Linked DNA regions of Homo sapiens: region 2 is linked to region 1. Evidence: promoter capture Hi-C in human tissues and cell types (Jung and others, 2019). All regions are on one chromosome and are shown on one strand. The core of a region is centred on a gene start or on the middle of the fragment in contact, and the rest is flanking DNA. Distances in the headings are between cores, read along the strand shown.

What was found. Contacts are between HindIII fragments. The study calls those that stand out against the background at their distance.
Region 2: a fragment that was not itself captured here is called in contact with the fragment with the promoter of TBX15 in region 1 in 2 of the 25 tissues and cell types used here (bladder and thymus).

What each region holds. Positions count from the first base shown.
Region 1 is chr1:118,984,961-118,989,592 of GRCh38, reverse strand. TBX15 (T-box transcription factor 15) reads left to right here and starts at 1,250. Exons shown (of 8, transcript NM_001330677.2): 1 at 1,250-2,002. The coding sequence starts at 1,798. RefSeq lists enhancers at 1,317-1,849, 1,850-2,383, 3,703-4,380. The HindIII fragment of the contact is 7,773 bases long and covers 1-4,632 here.
Region 2 is chr1:118,815,820-118,821,155 of GRCh38, reverse strand. All of the region lies in intron 1 of LOC107985447 (a long non-coding RNA gene), which reads left to right. Among named protein-coding and RNA genes, the nearest start is that of TBX15, 170 kb to the left of the region's middle. The HindIII fragment of the contact is 7,268 bases long and covers 1-5,336 here.

The DNA.
Region 1 (4,632 bases), core at 1-2,500:
GGCCTCTCAGTCTGTCCCCCGCCCCCGGGACCCAGCTCTTTCCGGCTTCTTTGCAAAAGGATAGAACCGTCTCGACCAGGGCACTAGGACTGGAAGATCGGGCTGTGTCTAGGCCGCTGTCCGCGAAATCCGAGACGTTTTTTCAGCTTGGCTAGGACCGACTTCGCTGCCGGTTTGAGCTTTCTCTGCACTCGGGGGTCTCCTGCCGTCCTCGACCGGTGGCGTAACTTGGGAAGAGGTGTGGGAATTAAGAATGGCCAGGAGCGTTGGATTTTTTAATTCCTTAGAAATCCATGTTGAATGCAGTCCTTAGAGATCGCAAAAGGCAGGGGGCGGCCAGGGGGGAGATCAGCTGGCCGGGAAAGCCATGGTCTTGAGGTAACGGGATTTGCAGGGAATTTTGAAAAAGCTCCTTCTCTTCTGTTAAAGTTCCTAGCTGTTCTTGCCTGTCACCTCTCCATAGGTTCTCTGCAACAAGAGCCCGGAACAGGCGAAGCGCAGCCCAGCGTTCGGGCCGTAGGGAAAGAGAGTATTTGCGGCGTGAGGGGGCCCAGCTGGAATACGCCTGAGGAGCTCGCCCTAAACCCCGCGCTCCGCCGCCCGCCCCTTGCTCTCAAGGCGCCTGTGTCTCCTTCTCCACCAGGTAGAGCTGGAAGGAGGAAGCGGTCTTTGAATTTTCAGTTACAAGACCCTGGTTAGTAACAGGGCTTTCTGTTTGCTTGTTTGTTTGTTTCCTTTTGCCTTACCCAGATTTGCTTAGAAAACGTTCAGTAGGAACATTAAAACCTGTGTGGCGAAATCCAGGAGGAACCAGAATATTCTAAAGCACCTAGGGGCTGACGCGAAATTATCAGAATCGTTTTCTGGCATTTTGGACAGGTTAACATTTTGTCAGAGCCCCAAAATTCCAGATCTGCAACTAAAGTGACTCTGGACTTGCAGCGTCTATGAGACCAGCAGATCTGGAAGAAAAACGTATGGATTTGGGATTTGCAGGAGTTTGTAAAGGCGCAGATCAGACCTCAACTTTCAACTGTCCTACCTCCCTCTTGGAGTAACCCATGGGGAAACCGGGAAGCCAGGGGTTAAAGTCGGCCCAGGAGCATCCAGGGGACGACTGGCGCTGCGCTTTGGCCCGGGCCTCAGTCTCTCCCTTCCTCTCATTGGTTCGCGCTCTCGGAGTTTCTCTTGTTCCCTCCTCGCTATTGGTTGGGGGCTGGCTTTTTTCCCCCTCAGTCTTTTTCTTCCTCCCCCTCCCTCTCCCTCACCCCTCGGACAGGAGCGCACCGCCTGCCCCCTGTTCCTCGGGAAGGGAGGAATTTAGCGGAAAAAAAAGTTTCCCAGAAGTTTGGATCACAGGGAGGACGGGAAGGCAGAGAGGAAGAGAGAGAGAGGGGGAGGAGAGAAAAAGAGAGGGAGGGGAGAGAGAGAGAGAGAGAGAGAGGAGAGAGAATAATAATAATAACAAAAACAAGATGAAGTTCAGTGGACACAGTCTGTGAGCGCCTGCCCCGGTGGGTGGGAAGCAGGACTCGGGCGCTCATGCAGCGAGCGGGCGGCGCTCGGGGCGCTAGTTCCTAGCAGCTGGGCCAGCGTAGGGGCGCAGGTCGGATCCGGCAGAGGAGGGCGGAGGAGGACGCAGGGGGAGGGTGGAGAGACCCGCGAGCCGCAGTCTCAGCCTCGTCCGACGCGCCTCCGCCTCTCCCGGGCCGGGCCCGGTGGGCGCTCAGAGCTTGAGGGCGCCGGCTGCTCCCTCGGTAGCGGGGGCAAGCGGAGGCAGGGGTGTGGGCGGCTAAAATGAGTGAAAGGAGAAGATCTGCAGTCGCCCTGAGCTCGCGAGCACATGCCTTCTCCGTTGAAGCCTTGATCGGCTCAAATAAAAAACGGAAACTGCGAGACTGGGAGGAGAAGGGGCTGGACCTGTCTATGGAGGCGCTGAGCCCCGCGGGCCCACTCGGAGACACGGAGGACGCGGCGGCACACGGCCTGGAGCCTCACCCGGGTGAGTGCGTCGCAGCCGACCGCGGGAGGCGGGCGGAGAGGGGACGCCGAAGGGCCAGTCGCCGGTCGCGGGTGAGGAGCTAGGCCCTGCCATTGACGCCCTGCCTTGCCCCAACATAGGTTTCTGTTTCTTCGCGCAAATGCCCTGAGCCTCCCTAAATTCACCGGAACCAATTTTTGGGGCTGGACTGAGCCTTGCATTTTCGTCGCCAGCCTAAGCAAGGAGTCCTGTTTGTTTGCATTTCTTTTTCTTTTGGGTGGAGAGCGCAGCTTTCTGGGTGTCCGTGGATGAAGGGCTGCCGGTCCCTGGGATTGGGAGGGGCGCGGGCCGAAGGCAACGGCGGGAGCCGAGATCTAGGACTCGCTTCTGAGAACTCGGGAGGACTGGCGCGGCGTTCTCCAATCCAATACCTCAGTCTTCGGGGAATGACCAGTTGTCTCATTTAGCCTTCAACCTCGTCCTTGCCTTTCTCCCACCAACTTTTCGATGGTGGAACATAATTATATTTCTACTCCTTTGGCGTTTACGGAAACAAGAATGGATGTTAGACCCCTTACTCCTTGGGTCACTCTTCAGGGCCCACATCTCTGTGTATTTAGGGTGTGGGTACGATTGATTTGTGTCTCAGATCCTACAGTAACCCATGTATATTATGTGCACGGAACATGTAAAAAGCAGGGGGGATGTCATGTCTGTATTTTAACAGAACCCTAGGAGGGGAGAAGCCAACTTTAACGTTTTGTGTTAAGTGCCAAGATTTCAACTGTGCAAAAACAGCCCGGGGGAACAGCTGTTGTCGGAAGAATCTTGAGTGTGCGCGCGCGCACATACAACGCTCGCAACTTGGTTTAGCGGTTTCAGAAGCTTTCCAGCCCGGACTTCTAAAACCATGCTGGAAGGTGCTCCTGCTGAACAGCCAGAGCTGGGGAGTAGACCCCGCTTCACACGCTGACAAGCCCGGGGAGGGGGCAGCGGCCTGCACTGGGATAGAGACGGTCTGGGGCTCAGGAGCTTGGGGATCTCAGCCACAAAGCTGTCCAACTCAGAGGAGGGACAGCTGTCGCTTACATTTTCTCTTTAGGCAGTGACAGTTCAATTTCCATGCTCCCGAGGCTAATAATAATGCGATTAGCGGGTGACCTGCAGAGATAGAGTTTTATGAATTCTCCGTGTTTTTGTGGCCCGTTACGGTATTTGAGTTTAGTGCTGGGGAATTATTTTTATTAGTCGATGAAAAGAAAATTAAAAGGAGATTTATTTCGACCGTCCAAGCCTTTTCCTGTATTTGAATGCAAGTGCTTGTCCACGCGGACCCCTGCGTGGGCATTCCAGAAAGGCACCCAGGGCTACTGTGTGTTTCCCTTCGCTGGCCAGACCCTATTTCCTCAGCTCATTTATCTATTGTCAAAATCTCGCGTGGGCCTTCATACAGTTAGAAGTTCTTGCAGGGGTTATGACGCCTTAGAATTTGTAAGGTTCTTTTATTTTCCCCACGGCGGAAAAAACAGAAGTTGTTTAGCTGCGCGTGGCAGACGTCCTGTCCCGGGGAAGTTTTCTCTTGGGAGGCCCCAGATCGCACGGAGCCCGTCTAGGGCCTTATGTTCAAATGGGTAATACATGGGGTCATAATTAGAGATTCAGATCAGAGTTTGCTCTTTCTGCCGTTCTCCTTAGCCTGAGCTCCATTCAGGAGGCAGAAGAGAGAAAACTTAGGGAATGAGGCAAAAAGAAACCATTCCAGAGCGTGAACCTGGGGAGCTAAGCTCATGAATTCTATTTACTCGCTCCCGCGGGATGGGGGTGGGGTGGAAGATCTAACAGAACTAACTTTATGTAACAGAGTTCGGTTGGTCATTTCCCATTACGTTATCATTTTTTAAAAAAGAAAAAGATGGGTATTTGGATTAGAGAAAACGAAATATATTTGTGGGGCAAGTGTCTAGGAGGAAGAAGCTGAAAGCCCAGCACCCTCTGGCTTTCTGCGGAGCTGGGCTACAGGCCGGGCCTAGCCTTTTAGTGGGCCGGGGGAATCCTTAAGTTGGAGCCCCCGCAATGGCTAAGCCTTTCTTAACGATTTGCTGATAGGATGAGAAAAGATCTTTTAGTAAAAAGGGCGCCGTGGCGTGGAGACGCGGCGGTCCAGGGAGCAGAAGAGGTGGAGCTGTCGGCTCCAGACTCAGGCGGTAGCGAAAGGCGCGACCAGGGCTGGGGGTGTTTTTAGGCCTTTCTTTTTCTGTAATACAGCACCCTAACGAACACACACAGGGACACATTTAAAGATGTGTGTATGGAGGAGTAATGCAGGCGACCCTATTGTGCCCAGGGCAGCGTCTCTTCCCGGGTGAGCCTCATTGTTTTAACTCTTTTGTCCTTAGGGCCCAGAAGCCGCTGCGTGGTTCTCCCGCCCTAGGCCGATAACAAACCGGGAATAGGAAAAAAACAAAAAATTGTTTTGCGGGAAGAATGAAACACACACACACACACAAACACACACGCACACGTTCATGCCTAGAGTATTCTCACCATCTCTCATAGCACCGTTTTTTAGTCCGCTCTGCCGGAGCTTCAAAATTCCGCGATCTTTAGACAACTCTAGGGTCAGATTTTAATGTTTAACTTTCATTCAAAGA
Region 2 (5,336 bases), core at 1,652-4,151, 170 kb after region 1:
AAGAGCTGTTTTGTTAATTCAAATGTTATTTTCTAAAGAAGTGGGAGGATTTTATACATATTTGCACAGCCAAATGTTATGAAGAACATTCTGTGCTCATAGTTAGAAACTTTTTCCCTTGTGATTCAATCCTTTCACATGTCCTCCTGGCTATAGCATCAGAAAGAAAAGGTTATCCAGTTAGTGTTTTGTTGAAACTCTCTGTCAATGATTTAGTTTCTACCTAAATGTGGTTTATGTCCATCCTGTGGGAGTCTATACAATTTATATAAGAATCTGAGCAATGCTAATGGCCAACCTATCAGTGTAGACCAGAAATCCCTCTGGAGTCAGAATTAACCCTAGTTGCTCTTGCTGCTAGCATCTCTCTTTTTACCAGGAAGACATGGCTTTCAATTGAAAAAAAATTGAGGCAAATTCTCTGTATAAATTTCTTTTTAAAAAATATTTTTTACTAATTTTTATTGGTTGCTCTAAGAAGTACAGTATGCCTCTTTTAAAATACCAACTTTCAAATTACAACTGCAGATTTGTCACATGGAAATATCGCATGATGCTGAAGTTTGGAGTGCAGATCCCATCACCCAGGTGGTGCGCATAGTACCTCGTAGGTAGTTTTTTTTTAATCTCCCACGCAGTAGTCCACGGTGTCTATTGTTCTCATATTTCTGTTCATGTGTGCTCAATGTTTAGCTCTGACTTATAACTGAGAACATGTGATGCTTGGCTTTTGTTCCTGTGTTGTTTAGGATTATGGCCTCCAGCTCCATCCATGTTGCTGCAAAGGACGTGATTTCATTGTTTTATGGCTGCATAGTATTCCATGGTGTACATGTACCATATTTTCTTTATTCAATCTACCATTGATAGGCACCTGGGTTGAATACATGTCTTTGCTATTGCGAATAGTGCAGCAGTGAACATATGAGTGCATGTGTCTTTTTGGTAGAATGATTTATTTTCTTTTGGGTATATACCTAGTAATGGGATTGTTGGGTTGAATGGTAGCTCTGTTTCAAGTTCTTTGAGAAATCTTCTTCAGATTGCTTTCCACGGTGGCTGGACTAAGTTACATTCCCATCAACAATGTATAAGTACTTCCTTTTTTCTGCAGGTTTGCCAAAGTCTGTTATTTTTTGACTTCTTAATAATGCCATTTTGACTGGTGGGAGATGGTATCTTATTGTGATTTTGATTTGCATTTCCCTCATGATTAATGATGCTGAGCATTTTTTTCATATGTTTGTTGGCCACATGTACGCTTTCTTTTGAGAAGTGTCTGTTCATGTCTTTTGCCTTTTTTTTTTGTTGTTGTTGTTTTTGAGATGGAGTCTCACTCTGTCGCCCAGGCTGGAGTGCAGTGGCGCGATCTTGGCTCACTGCAAGCTCTGCCTCTCAGGTTCACATCATTCTCCTGCCTCAGCCTCCCGAGTAGCTGGGACTACAGGCCCCCACCACCATGTCCGGCTGATTTTTTTTGTATTTTTTTGTATTTTTTAGTAGAGACAGGGTTTCACTGTGTTAGCCAGGATGGTCTCCATCTCCTGACCTCGTGATCCATCCGCCTCAGCCTCCCAAAGTGCTGGGATTACAGGTGTGAGCCATTGCACCTGGACTCTTTTGCCCATATTTTCATTGGGTTATTTGTTTTTTGCTCATTGATTTGTTTAAGTTGTCTATACATTCTGGGTATTAGGCCTTTGTTGGATGCATAATTTGCAAATATCTTCTCCTGTTCTGTCTGTTTGCTCTGTTCATAGTTTCTTTTGCTGTGCAGAAGCTCTTTAGTTTAATTAGGCCCCACTTGTCTATTTTTGTTTTTGTTGCAATTGCTTTTGGGGACTTAGGCAAAAATTCTTCACCAAGGCTGATGTTGAGAAGAGTATTTCCTAGGTTGCCTTCCAGTATTTTTATAGTTTGAGATCTTACATTTAAATATTTAATTTAGTTTGAGTTAGTTTTTATATATGGTAAGAGGTAGGAGTCTGGTTTCAATCTTCTGGATATGCCGAGCTATTAATAGTTTTCCGAGCACCATTTATTGATAAGGAGTCCTTTCCCCATTGCTTGTTTTTGTCAGCCTTATGGATGATCAGATGGTTGTAGGTATGTGGCTTTACTTCTGATTTTTCTATTCTGTTCCATTGGTCTATTTGTCTGTTTTTGTACCAGTACCAAGCTGTTTTGGTTATTGTGGCTCTATAGTATAGTTTGAATTCAGGTAGTGTGGTGCTTAGGACTTCTTTGGCTATTCAGGCTCCCTTTTGGTCCCATATGAATTTTAGAATTTTTTTTCTAATTCTGTAAAGAATGATGTTGGTAGTTTGATAGGAATAGCATTGAATCTGTAATTTTTTGCACAAATTTCTAAATCTCAGATAATCTTTGCAGAAGTAGGTGCCTCATCCTCTAGAAATTTCACAATTTCCAGAGAGGTCTTTCCTTATCTTCCTTTATGGGAAAAGAGTAATTCTTTCTATTGACAGATGTCTGTGTGATCTAATAAACACTTGAAGCTGGAACCATAAGGAAAAGATTTGTTTTTAAAAAGGCAAAGTTTTTAAAAAGGCAGAGTTTAATCTTGAGGTAAACTTAAAAAAATAAGATGTTGATATATACTCCAACCTCAAACAATCATAAAGCAGTTATCTTTATACCTTTCTGGGTGTTGAGTTGTGTTATTCCCTTAAAATGTGAGAATGGATGTCCACACAATCAAAATATATAACTTGGGACCAGAGGGCATTTTTGGCCAAATCACCTGTTGTAGGAAGAATACTCATACTTAGTATAAACATTTACACCTCGATGTTCATGCAGAGATAATTTGATTTAAGTGAAGTGATCCACATAAGGTTATAAACAAGGTGAGGTCCAGAGCAGATCCTTTTTTACTATGTTTTTTATTATGTATGCTCTCCTTTAGACCCACGACTCCTGTAGTATTGTTTTGAGAGGCCTCCAGGTAACCTAAAAGTTGGTCTTAGGTAGCATTTATGCGTTTTTATAATATAACTTTTGATGCTACTATTCTGAATCTCCAAATAGAGATTTATTTCTAATGATTAATAAAAACCTAAGCATTTTATCTGAGTTACACTAGAGAGAAGACTCTACATTTTCTTGTAATTTTTTTTTTCAGCAGTACAGTGTAGCCAGCAGGTCTTATCTGGCTAATGATCAGAATTATTGAGGCAGACCAAAGTGCCCTTTTATGGCATCTAAACTTAAAAATTAATTTTGCTTTTCATAGGCTTACTGAATAATGTCTCATTGTAATTCCTAAGATATGTAAGTATTCCTAGATATTTAAAAAACCATATTGGGTGCATCAAACAATGGGAAGCATTATGGAGAAGCTATCTCACGTATTCTTATTTATTTCGTGATATCCAACATGGACATCTTACAAACGTAAGACAATTTTGCTTCCAAGCATTCTCCCTTTGAAGATTATTTATCAATTGTCCCTTTGGGTGAGACACTGCTGTCTCATCCCCATTACCTTGTCAAGTCCTAAAGGATGTTAGCAGACCTCAGAGAAGGTGAATTTCCCCTTTCTTCTAGAATAGATATGTCTAGGCAACATCAAAGCAAGCTGACTAAAAAAAGCTTTAATCAACTGAACATGTCTTTTTGGTATCTAATGCTTTGTTGAATCTGTTTCTGTCTTTTTCCCTCTCCATTTCATTTAGCTGACAGGTGTGGCCATTTAGAAGAATGTTTAAGCTTCAAATTCAACGAAACCCATGTTTTTAAATTAGGAACTATGTATATTTCTACCCTGAAAGATCTCAAAGCACTTTAAAATTTTCTCTGTGCTCAAGCACAAACTCACTATTGGGATCATTTTACCTTCCACTACGTGTCTATATTAGAGGTGGAATGCGGCAGCTGTTTAACCCTGAGAGGCTTCCCAGAACTTGAAGACAGGGAATGAAGAATTATGTATTCTATTCCTTCTATGGTTTCAAGAGGCAGAACTAGAATCTAGTGTGACCAGATTAGAATCTGCCAAGCCTTCTCAATTACTCAATCAGTAGGAGTTGAATAAATGCAGATGGTTAAGGTCTTATATTCAGGGCCTTGTTTCATACATTGGTAAGGGATGGTAGCTTCTTACATTGATTCTCACTGAGGAAGTATGTGGGTTGAGAAACAATTTAGAGGCAAATTCCATTTTGTCAGGATGCAGAAAAAGGCTAATTGGTGAAAGGTGGCAGAAAGAGTGCAGGGTTGTGAATACAAAGACTTGGGAGTCCTTCATCATGTATGAAGATAAAGTGATGTAGATGAACTCCAGGTAATTGAGTATCTTCCATATATATGGAAAAACCCTAATTAAATGAGAACTGGGCCCTAGAACCTTTCTTCAAACAAACTTTATGGTCTTTTCCCTCCTTATTTGAAAAGTAATACATTATTCTAGTTAAAATTTTTGAAAATATTAAAAACATATGACTCTTTATCCCATTATCTATAGTTAATTGTTATTATTTTTTTGTGTGAATTTCCTTGTAAGGTTTTATCTGCATATAAAAAATATAAGGAAAGGAGGAAGTCCTCAGTATTCATGACCTACCCAGGCACAAAGAAACAGAATGTGACTGGGGTTATGAGGCTCATCATCATCATCCAAATATAATATTTTCTTCAGAAGAAGAGAGGTTTAGGAGCTAGAACATATTATTGATGATAATAATTTACAGTAAATTATCTGGAGAATGTTCTCAGTTCTTCAATTTCCTGAAATAGATCTGCCTTATGATTGTGTAAATATTTGTAGAACACGGCTTGGTTGAGACAAAAACAAGACAGGAATATTCTGAAACTCTGAAACTTTGGGGAAATTATAATTTTATTTAGTGTAAATAAACATTCATATATTTATAAAACCTTCTGACACATCACTCTCTTATCCTCGTTTCCTTTTTGGCTTTTTGTGCTTTTGGAAGGGAGGGTAGTGAACTTTTACATAATTATGAAACCTCTGACGCATCACTCTTTTACCCTCATTTCCTTTTTGACTTTGTACTTTTGGAAAGGAAAGTGGTGAGGAATCAAAGGTTTTGTGAAATAGCACCAGTTTAGAAGGGGGTCCAAGTTAAAGCTAAGTGTTTTTTGTCACTTTATTCAGCCTTTATCTGCCCTGTTGGTTCTGTTCATCTGTGGAATACATGGTGGATGGCCTATGGACATTTCCACCATTTTACTTACAGTGGATTTAGCTATAATGATCCTAATGAATCAGGAAGACAACAGATATAATGTACTGATGACAGCTCATGGTAATTATAAAACCTCAGAGATGCCCCTACGGATCTCATTTTATCAGA